Linked DNA regions of Homo sapiens: regions 1, 2 and 4 are each linked to region 3. The links are contacts of gene promoters, found by promoter capture Hi-C in blood cells and fetal thymus (Javierre and others, 2016). All regions are on one chromosome and are shown on one strand. The core of a region is centred on a gene start or on the middle of the fragment in contact, and the rest is flanking DNA. Distances in the headings are between cores, read along the strand shown.

Region 1 (2,700 bases), core at 197-2,696, 300 kb before region 3:
TCAGACTCCTGACCTCAAATGATCCTCCCGCCTCGGCCTCCCAAAGTGCTGGGATTACAGGCGTGAGCCACTGCGCCTAGCCATGACTGGGCATTTGAAATAAATATTTTCTACCATAAGGAAAAAAACAGTAATAGCTCAGGACTTTATTTTTATTAAAGTAAAATAAAATATAGCTACATAAAGCCGTGTAACACCAAAGTGTAGCTTAACTGGTTCTTACAAGGCAAACACCTTAGTAACAACCACCAAATTCAAGAAAGAACTCTGCCAGCCAACCCAGAAGCCCCATCCAATTTCAACTCACCAACCTTGACCTTGACTTTATAGTAATTACTTCCTTGCATTTCTTTATATCACCCAAGTGTACATCCTCAAACATTACATGTTAGTCTTGCTCATGAAAAAAAAATGATTTGTTTTTTAAGTCTCTTTTACTTTCAAGGTCCTCACTCAAATCTGGATTTTTCACAGCCTGGATTTGGGTGATTGCATGTGCATGGCAATATATTTCTCTGTACTCCATGTTTCCTGCAAATTGGCAGGTCAATGCAGGGGCCAGATCTGGTTCAAGCTTAATTCCTTTAGCAAGACTACATGTGCTCTCATCAGGGGGCACAGAATGTCTGGTTGTCACTCTTGTGATGTTAGCAGCTGAGATGCTTCAATGCCTAGAAGATCCATGAAATTGATTGGTGGTTGCAAAATGGTGATATACAAATTCCAACCAACAATTCTTTTTCATTTATTAATTGCAACACTTTTATAGAGATGCTTTTGTTCATTTATCATTTGGTTACTGATACTACAGTTTATTTAGGAAAGGCAACATAAATGCTTTATTCTTTGTCCCTTTATCAGTTTTCAAGAAAATGATTTGGTTCCCTATCATTCCCCAAAGGTAACTATTTTTAAAAAGATCATTGTGAACTCATGAATTTAAGCATATTAGGCAGGTTTCAGTCAAATTGCATTTATTAACTTCTTGAAGCTCAAATTATCTCATCTGCGGCCCGTGAGAGACTCCTGGAGTTGGCTCCCACACCCTTTTGACTTGACCCTAATAGATATTAACAGCTTTCTCACTATCGGCTCTTATGACAAGATTCCAGGATTATCTTGTACATTTCCAGTACCAGATCTGGTACTGATTCCTTTTCATGGGAAATGGAATGTCAAGGCCACAATTTGGGTGCCAGGGTTGCTCATTACTGCTGTGTTGGTCGTTGTTTGTAGGCCTCTTCAGCAGACAGAGCTATGAAGTGTGTGTGTGTGTGTGTGTGTGTGTGTGTGTGTGCACATTCTTTTTAAAAATAAACTGTTGTGAGATCATATTGATATGTCCAACTCAAATTCAGGAATATAGGTTTTTTTTTTCCTTAAGCTCTCTTTTATATTGTATCTGTATTCCATTTCTTTTTTTTTTTTTTTTTTTTTTTGAGACGGAGTCTCGCTCTGTCACTCAGGCTGGAGTGCAGTGGCGTGATCTCAGCTAACTGTAACCTCCGCCTCCCGGGCTCAAGCGATTCTCCTGCCTCAGCCTCCCGAGTAGCTGGGATTACAGGCAGCCGCCACCATGCCTGACTAATTTTTTGTATTTTTAGTTGAGACGGGGTTTCATCATGTTGGCCAGGCTGGTCTCAAACTCCTGACCTCAGGTGATCCACCCGCCTCAGCCTCCCAAAGTACAGGGATTATAGGCATGAGCCACCACACCCGGCCTGCATTCCATTTCTCTCACAACAAAATTACAGGTTCTCATAGACGCAGGGATGATAGAATTGGAATATCTCATAATTATTAATTTATCCCATTCTGTTGGGGGGTCCCAGGGCCACCCCCCATGTTCAGTGACTTGCTGGAAGAACTCATAGCACTGAGCATAGCATATAATTGTCCTCACAGCTAAGGTTTATGACAGCAAAAGGATATGTGACAGAATCGTCAAGGTAAAAAGACACAGGCAGAATGTGAAGGATGCTGTACACAGGCCTCCTCATGCTGTCTCCCCCTCGCAGGAGGCTTGCACAGAGCTGTCCTTCTAGCAACAAAAATCCAGGAACACATGTATAATGCTTCTCCCCAGGGAAGCCCATTAGAGGTTTGGTGCCCAAAGGTTTCACTGGGGGCTGGTCACTAGGCACCCTCTACCTAGTGCTTACCAAAATTCCAGGCTCCCAGAATGAAAGCCGGTGATCAGCAGAAACCACTGTTTGCACAAACAGGTTGGGAAGAGTAAGCCATCCTTATCAGTTAAGGAATTCTGGGAATACTCCCGAAATCCAAGTTCCTAATTGCCAGCCAAGGGCCAAGCTTGTAAGCAGGACTTTCAAAGGACAATAGTTACAGGACTGCTATGTTAACCCCCTTCTGCTTAGTCCACCCCTTGGTCCTGGCATCTTCACAGCAAAATTATCAGTAGGACCCCATGCAGCCAGGTGAGACCACCCTGCAGATTTAACCTCACTTATACCCTCCAGGGGTCCTGGATTTAGCCAGTTAAAACAAATTCCAGGTGGGGCACAGTGGCTCACACCTGTAATCCCAGCACTCTGGGAGGCCAAGGCAGCAGGATTGCTTGAACCCAGGGGTTGGAGGGCAGCCTGGCCAACATAGTGAGACCCCCTGTGATGGTTAATACTGAGTTGTCAACTTGATTGGATTGAGGGATACAAAATATTAATCCTGGGTGTGTCTGTG
Region 2 (2,700 bases), core at 118-2,617, 420 kb before region 3:
GATTGTTGTGAGGGTTGGATGAAATGATGCATGTAAACAGCTTAGTTAAGAGTTGGGTACAATCAGTGAACAAATGATTATGAATTAGTGCTTTTATTGTAGTCAGAATCATAAAGATTTGACAGGTTCCCATATCCCACCTCTGCTTGGACTACCTCATTTGCTCATATGCAAACATTATTTGGTACCTACTGTGTGTGCACCATGGGATGGGCCTGCCTCTGTGGAAAGTTCTTGGGTGCAGGGGGAGACAGCCATGGGCACTGATGACATCAGGTAGTTATCGTGAGTTTTGGCGGTGTCCAGAGCAAAGGGATGGTGGCGTATATACCAAGTGTGTTCTGGTGTGGGGGTGGACACGCACCAGGGCTAGGGCTGCAGAGAATGTCTGTGTTGCAGATCTAGGTTTCTCCATGATCATCGGTGGGAATGTGTTTTGTCTGCAAGTGTATGCTCATATGAGTTTCCCTGGGTCTCTGTGTGTCAGTGTGTTACCTGTGTGTGTGGGGGTATGGGTGTATGCATGCATGTATGTAACATGCCCATGTGTGTTACTCTGGACTTGTATGTCTGTATGTATACCTAGATTGGCGTGTGTTCTGTCTGTACATGCCCTCGTATGTTTCCTCACTTTTGTGTGTGTTTATATGTGTGTCATTTCTTGTGTGCCTCCAGGCCCCCCTTGCCACCTTGGGCAAGGGTGTGTACACCACCCAAGTGTCCACCTCCGCTTGTCTGATGCTGTCTGTGACGCCCCCGCTCTCTGCCTAGCTGAGCCTGTGTGGATGTGGGAGACTAATCTCCCCGCGGGCACTGCGTGTGACCTCACCCCCCTCTGTGAGGGGGTTATTTCTCTACTTTCGTGTCTCTGAGTGTGCTTCCAGTGCCCCCCTCCCCCCAAAAAATGCCTTCTGAGTTGAATATCAACACTACAAACCGAGTATCTGCAGAGGGCCCTGCGTATGAGTGCAAGTGGGTTTTAGGACCAGGATGAGGCGGGGTGGGGGTGCCTACCTGACGACCGACCCCGACCCACTGGACAAGCACCCAACCCCCATTCCCCAAATTGCGCATCCCCTATCAGAGAGGGGGAGGGGAAACAGGATGCGGCGAGGCGCGTGCGCACTGCCAGCTTCAGCACCGCGGACAGTGCCTTCGCCCCCGCCTGGCGGCGCGCGCCACCGCCGCCTCAGCACTGAAGGCGCGCTGACGTCACTCGCCGGTCCCCCGCAAACTCCCCTTCCCGGCCACCTTGGTCGCGTCCGCGCCGCCGCCGGCCCAGCCGGACCGCACCACGCGAGGCGCGAGATAGGGGGGCACGGGCGCGACCATCTGCGCTGCGGCGCCGGCGACTCAGCGCTGCCTCAGTCTGCGGTGGGCAGCGGAGGAGTCGTGTCGTGCCTGAGAGCGCAGCTGTGCTCCTGGGCACCGCGCAGTCCGCCCCCGCGGCTCCTGGCCAGACCACCCCTAGGACCCCCTGCCCCAAGTCGCAGCCATGAACTACCTGCGGCGCCGCCTGTCGGACAGCAACTTTATGGCCAATCTGCCAAATGGGTACATGACAGACCTGCAGCGTCCGCAGCCGCCCCCACCGCCGCCCGGTGCCCACAGCCCCGGAGCCACGCCCGGTCCCGGGACCGCCACTGCCGAGAGGTCCTCCGGGGTCGCCCCAGCGGCCTCTCCGGCCGCCCCTAGCCCCGGGTCCTCGGGGGGCGGTGGCTTCTTCTCGTCGCTGTCCAACGCGGTCAAGCAGACCACGGCGGCGGCAGCTGCCACCTTCAGCGAGCAGGTGGGCGGCGGCTCTGGGGGCGCAGGCCGCGGGGGAGCCGCCTCCAGGGTGCTGCTGGTCATCGACGAGCCGCACACCGACTGGTAAGCCACTGCCGCGGACGTCTCCCGTGGGCCTGGGTCCCCAGATCGTTCTTCTGCGAATGAGCAATTATCGAGCGCCGCTTGTGTGCCTGACACCTGGCCCTCTCACCTAAATCTTTTTCCTTTAAATTATTAAGCTGGATGCTTCCTCTGTGCCCCGCCCTTGTCGCCCCCCTCCGCCCCTTAAACCTTGATGGATCCAGGGAGCAATTATCAGGCACCTGCTGCGTACCTGTTCCCTACTACCCCTCCCCCAAAAGTCTTTGGCTTCAATATATCCTATGAGCCTTCGAAAACCGAACGTGTCCTTCCTACCCTCCCCAACCCTTGCCCCATAGGCCTTGTCCTCTAATGGATCTTGTGAGCACTTATCTAGTACCTGCAGTATGCCTCATCCAAGAGCCCTTCCCCAAGGCCTTTGATTTCAATGAGGTTTGTGAGCATTCTTTGAGAGCCTGATACTGTCCTGTTCTCCTCAACCCTTGCCCTGAGGCCTTCTCTAATGGGTCTTGTGAGCATGTGTCCAGTCTATGCTATGTGTCCCACCCCAGCTCCGTCCTTAAAGCCCTTTTAAACTATTTAGTAAACATTGAGTACCTGCTGTGTATCCCACCCCAGCTTCTCTCCAAAAGCTTTGCCTTTCATGGATCCTGTGAGTTTTGATTGGATGCCTTCTCTGTGCCCCAACTCCAAGCCCTCTCTCTGAGGGCCTTTTCTCCAAAGGATCTAGGAAGCATTTGTTAAGTGCCTGATACGTGCCGCACCCCCAAACCCCTTCTCAAACAAATCATTTTCCTCCAGTGAGTTCCATGAGCAGTTTTGAACCTT
Region 3 (2,700 bases), core at 1-2,500:
CAGGGCATTGGCCACGCCATCTAGGTTTTGGAAAAAATCGTCATCATAGATGCGCTCCGTGTCAGGACCCACACGGTTCTGGTGGCTTGTCACCCGGATATGTGGATTCATTTGGCGCACAGCTGCAGCAGCCGTGTCAGACTTTAACTTCTAAAGGGTTAAGAAAGTGCAGTTCCAGGGTGGGGATGGGGGAACAAAGCTCACTTATTTGTGCATTCACCCAACAAACATCTTTATTTTTTTTGAGACAGGGTCTCTCTCCATCACACAGGCTGGAATGCAGTGGCATGATCACGGCTCACTGCAGCCTCAACTTCCCAGGCTCCAGCGATCCTCCCACCTCAGCCTCCCGAGTAGCTGGGACCACAGGTGTGTGCCACCATGCGTGGCTAATTTTTGTATTTTTGGTAGAGACAGGGTTTTGTCATGCTGCCCAGGCTGGTCTTGAACTCCTGAGCTCAAAGACCTCGGCCCCACAAAGAGCTGGGATTACAGGCGTGAGCCACCGCACCTGGCCCAAACACCTATAAAGGGCTGTCTGCCTGAGACTGATTTACTTAATGCTGGGGAAGACCCAGGCCCTGAGTTAGGAGGCTAGCAGGAGAGACGGTCTGTGACAATGCCACATGGCCAGGATGATGATGCATGTGGCAGGGGCTCAGCATAAAGGGAAGCTGTGGACAGGAACAGACTGGAGACAATGGGCCAGACATCTGTTCTTTCGTCTAACACCTGCTATTTTTTCAGGTAACAGCACCCAGGATTGATGCAGACTCCCCCAACCACCACCAGGATGCTGGCACACAGACAAGCAGGATCCTTTCAAAGCCCAAATTGGGCCACGTCCCTCCTCTGCTCAGAATCCTCCCCTGGATCCCACCTCCACTTACCGTAAAATGAGTTGGCTCCCTGACCCCTCCCACCTCAGGATCTTTGCGCAGGCTCTTCCACAGCAGAGGGCACTCTAGTCCCTCATATCCTTGAGGTCTTTGCAGAACTCAGGCCTTCCTTAACCATTGTCATCAATACTACAAACCATTCTCCCTGACACCCCGACTTCCCTTGTCTGGTTTTAGTTGTTTCCTTTGAGGAGCACTCATCACCAACATTAACTATATACCTCACGATCGTATTGTGTCTATTGTTTGCTGTCCGTTCCCCTCTCCCTCCAGGAATCTTGTTTTATTCCTTGGTATATCCCCAATACCTAAAACAGTACTAAAACTATCTGGTGAATAAATGAAATAAATGAAAGGGGGAATAAATCCTGGGTAAGCAAAAACGACACTGCTCCTTACAGAAAGCTTCTCAGAGAACCCTGCATAACCAACCCAGTTTCCATATGTGCAGAGAAGTGTAAGCCTAGGAGACTGAAACTACAACCCTTGGAAAGGCCTGCTTCCAAGGTCGGCTCCTTGGCTGGTGTCTGGGAACTTGGAATTCAGGAAGGTTCCCACCGCTCCCTACCTGGTATCAGTGGTTCACTGTGCCTAAACCGTTCATGCAAACAATACAGTTTACGCTGAACACCTTTCCTTCTGGGAGTCTGGAAATTTTGTTATGTGCCAGGAAGGGGGCGCCTACATGACCAGCCCCAAGTAAAAGAGGTGGTGCTGAGTCTAACAAGCTTCCCTGGTTGGCAACATTTCATGTCTTGTTACACCTTGTTGCTGTTATTTCTGTAGTTACTGTTGCTACTGGGGAAATAAAGGCCGCCTTGTTTAACTCCCGCTGGGAGAAGACTCCTAGAAACTTGCACCAGCCTTTTCCCTTTGCTGATTTTGGTCTGTATCCTTTTGCTGTAATAAATTGTAGCCACAAGCACGACTATATGCTGAGTCCTGTAAGTACTCTAGGTGAATTGAGCTTGAGAGTAGTTTTGAGGACCCCAGACACACTGTCCCAACCAGCACTAAAAAGAGGTTAAGGCAAAAAAAAAAAAAAAAAAAAAAAAAAAACAGAAGCTGAGGGAAAGAAAGGCCAAAAAGAAGGGCTTCTGGCAGAGGCAGAAAGATCTCTGACAGAAAGAATGGGAACAAGAAAAAGGAGGGGTGAGGTGTGGTGGCTCACGCCTGTAATACCAACACTTTGGGAGGCTGAAGCAGGCAGATCACCTGAGGTCGGGAATTCGAGACCAGCCTGACCAACATGGAGAAACCCTGTCTCTACTTAAAATGCAAAATCAGCCGGGCGTGGTGGCGCATGCCTGTAGTCCCAGCTACTCAGGAGGCTGAGGCAGGAGAATCGCTTGAACCCAGGAGGCAGAGGTTGTGGTGGGCCAGAGATCACGCCACTGCACTACAGCCTGGGCAACAAGAGCGAAACTCCGTCTCAAAAAAAAAAAAAAAAAGAAAAAGGAGGAAAGTGAGACGACAAAGCCCCAACCTCCTACCCTACTCACCGTGACATCCCAGGGCCGGAAAAGAAACTGTCGATTCAGATTTGACTTCTCAATGGTGTCCATGTCTGTAACGATGATTTCTCCACCCTCCCCGCAGCCCAGCCCAATCATGGCAAAGTTCTTGAGCAGCTCACAGCCAATGGCCCCCGCACCCACCTAAGAAGCAACCAAGAAGACAGGCAGAGGCTGGTCAGGGTGATGCAGGTTAGTGTGAAGCTACCCATCACCCCTCACTCCCCTGAGAGACGGGGAGAGGGGCTAACACCACATCTTCAGGTTGCAGGACTCTAAGAAATGAC
Region 4 (2,700 bases), core at 71-2,570, 470 kb before region 3:
GCACCACTGCACTCTAGCCTGGGCAACAGAGGGAGACCCTGTCTCTAAAAACGAGAAAAGAAAAGAAAAGGAATGACAACTTTTAACATTAAAGCCTTAAAAAATTTCAGAACATACTAGAATGGGATATGACTTATTCTTTCAGTTGGTTATAGAAAAATAAAACAAAAAAATTATTCCTGTTACGTAATGTAAGGTAACTAAGAAATAAGTAGTGCAGTAAGCTTAAAGTGATGTCTATTTATGTAAGTGTGAATATATTTTAAACACCATCTGACTATGTTTGTCAAGTTACACCAATGGATTAACCACAGATGTCCATGGTAAGGATGCAATATTTCATCTGCTATGAGGGATATTGTATTAGTCCATTTTCACGCTGCTATAAAGAACTGCCTGAGACTGGGTGATTTATAAAGGAAAGAGGTTTAAATAACTCACAGCTCAGCATGGCTGGGAAGGCCTCAGAAAACTTGCAATTATGGCAGAAGGCAAAGGGGAAGCAAGGCACTGTCTTCACGAGGCGGCAGGAAGGAGAAGTGCCAAGTGAAAGGGGAAGATCCCCTTATAAAACCATCAGATCTCGTGAGAACTCACTCACTATCATGAAAACAGCATGGAGGAAACTGCCTCCATGATTCAATTCAATTACCTCCACCTGGTCTCTCCCTTGACACGTGGGGATTATGGGGATTACAATTCAAGATAAGATTTGGGTGGGGAACACAAAGCCTAATTCTAAGAATTAAAGAAAGAGGAAAGAAACATGAAAGGTGGCTCAACAGTCAAGGACAGGTTTATTTTAGAGAAAACAAACCTGACAGGGGATTCTGGCCAAGTTAGATCAGAGCCCACTCTCTTACAGACTAAGAGTTTTTAAAGATTTAGGGTGGGAGAGTTTATCAGAGGCTTGGACTGCTTCTGTGTCTCTTCATTTTGCTTATCTGGGAGGGAGAGTTTTGTGTCTGTTCCCATACATCTTCCTGCAGCTGCAGGCATACCCCCCCAGTCTACTTTTAGCTTCCCTATCTTAGTGCACCTGAAGGGAAAGGAATGTGCTTAGTAAGGCCCACTGTTTCACTGGGGTCCATTGTATGAGGGTGAAGTTCGGCAGTTACCCAGGAGACTTCCCCCCCGCCTCCCTCTGTGCCTGAGCTGTCTTATCTGTGTTTTACTGTCTGCTCTTTTCTGGCTGCTTGTAGTTAGAAAAGAAGTGATTTCCTTGAAATGCATGAGGCTAGAAAGGGAGCTTGAACTTAGAGTGGCGGTGTTTGTCCAAGATGACGGTGCTCCTGCTCTGTCATTAACCATATCAGATATTAAAGAAGAAACACATTTTTTTCTAGAAGTGAGGAAAGAATATTAAACAAAAGTGATAGGCAAAAAAGACAGAGAACGTCATCACTGAAATAAGGGCACCATTAATAGGGAGAGCAATAATAGTACTCACTTATTGCTGCTTCAAACCATTATCTTCTATTGTTGGGAATAATGCAATAACCATTCTTATGTGTCACAATCATCACATATATACAAATACACATGTGAAAATACAGATACTGCATGGTGACTAAGCATGTTTGGAATAAATCAAGAGTCTAAGTCACGACATACATAAATCATTTATATCTAAACTGCTAATTCAAGACAGGCAGCGTGGTGTAATGGTTAAGAACATGAATGCTGGAGCCAGATATGTATTCAAATCCTGCCCCTTAATGGTTTCTCAGATATGGCACAAAAAGTACACATAAAGAACCCTTACACTTTGCTAAAACAAAATAAATAAATAACCCAACTAAAAAATGGGCAAAGGCTGGGAGCAGTGGCTCACGCCTGTAATCCCAGCACTTTGGGAGGCTGAAGCGGGCGGATCACCTGAGGTCAGGAGTTTGAAACCAGCCTGGCCAATATGGCAAAACCCCATCTCTACTAAAAATACAAAAATTGCCCAGGCGTGGTGGTGCATGCCTGTAATCCTAGCTACTTGGGAGGCTGAGGCAGGAGAATGGCTTGAACCAGGGAGGCGGAGGTTGCAGTAAGCCGAGATTGCGCCACTGCACTCCAGCCTGAGCAACAGAGCAAGACTCCGTCTTAAAAAATAAACAAACAAATAAATAAATAAATATACTGCTAATTCATACTGGTACACATTTTTGTGAAACATACTAACACTTTTTAAGTGATGCAATCAAAACTCTAGTTACAAGGAAGGGAGAGACATCTGGAAAGGTTGACTAAGGAGCTTGGCAATCCTCTCCACAAAACGCCATGACAAAAGTGGACAAAATTGCCAAAAACAACCAGTTAAAGACTCTGGAAATTTACCAAGGTAATATAACAAATTGGGAAGTGGTTATTCAAGAAAAACTACTGAGGCTTGGAAGCAGAGCAAGATGGCCAAATAGAAGCTTCCACTGATTGTCCCCCGACAGGAACACCAAATTGAACAACTACACACACAGAAAACCACCTTCATAAGAACCAAAAAGCAGGTAAGCAGTCACAGTACTTGGTTTTAATATTATTTTAAGGAAAGAGGCACTAAAGAAGGTAGGAAAGACAGTCTTGAATCACCTACACTACCCTTCCCTCACCATCTGGCAGTGGCCATGTGGTGCAGAGAGAGAATCTGTGTGCTTGAGGAAGGGAGAACACAGTGAATGTGGGACTTTGCATTGGAACTCAGTGCTGCCGTGT

The links. Contacts are between HindIII fragments. The CHiCAGO score rates a contact against its expected background, and 5 or more counts as called.
Region 1: a fragment that was not itself captured here is called in contact with the fragment with the promoter of INE1 in region 3 in 13 of 17 cell types (naive CD4 T cells, fetal thymus, activated CD4 T cells and 10 more); the score reaches 8.7 in naive CD4 T cells.
Region 2: a contact is called between the fragment with the promoter of SYN1 here and the fragment with the promoter of INE1 in region 3, in 5 of 17 cell types (total CD4 T cells, non-activated CD4 T cells, naive CD8 T cells and 2 more). The highest score is 6.6, in total CD4 T cells.
Region 4: a fragment that was not itself captured here is called in contact with the fragment with the promoter of INE1 in region 3 in 1 of 17 cell types (activated CD4 T cells); the score reaches 5.2 in activated CD4 T cells.

Annotation. Positions count from the first base shown.
Region 1 is chrX:47,504,120-47,506,819 of GRCh38, reverse strand. All of the region lies in intron 1 of LOC124905183 (a long non-coding RNA gene), which reads left to right. Among named protein-coding and RNA genes, the nearest start is that of ZNF41, 22 kb to the right of the region's middle. The HindIII fragment of the contact is 1,739 bases long and covers 577-2,315 here.
Region 2 is chrX:47,618,524-47,621,223 of GRCh38, reverse strand. SYN1 (synapsin I) reads left to right here and starts at 1,367. Exons shown (of 13, transcript NM_006950.3): 1 at 1,367-1,872. The coding sequence starts at 1,496. RefSeq lists silencers at 1,144-1,353, 1,060-1,354. The HindIII fragment of the contact is 11,977 bases long and covers 1-2,506 here.
Region 3 is chrX:47,203,398-47,206,097 of GRCh38, reverse strand. INE1 (inactivation escape 1) reads right to left here and starts at 1,250. Exons shown (of 1, transcript NR_024616.1): 1 at 237-1,250. It overlaps UBA1 (ubiquitin like modifier activating enzyme 1), which reads right to left. Exons shown (of 26, transcript NM_003334.4): 14 at 2,402-2,557; 15 at 1-150. It overlaps LOC105373194 (a long non-coding RNA gene), which reads left to right. Exons shown (of 3, transcript XR_949047.4): 3 at 748-1,830. The HindIII fragment of the contact is 2,713 bases long and covers 1-1,306 here.
Region 4 is chrX:47,674,519-47,677,218 of GRCh38, reverse strand. No RefSeq gene overlaps it. Among named protein-coding and RNA genes, the nearest start is that of UXT, 17 kb to the right of the region's middle. The HindIII fragment of the contact is 2,187 bases long and covers 227-2,413 here.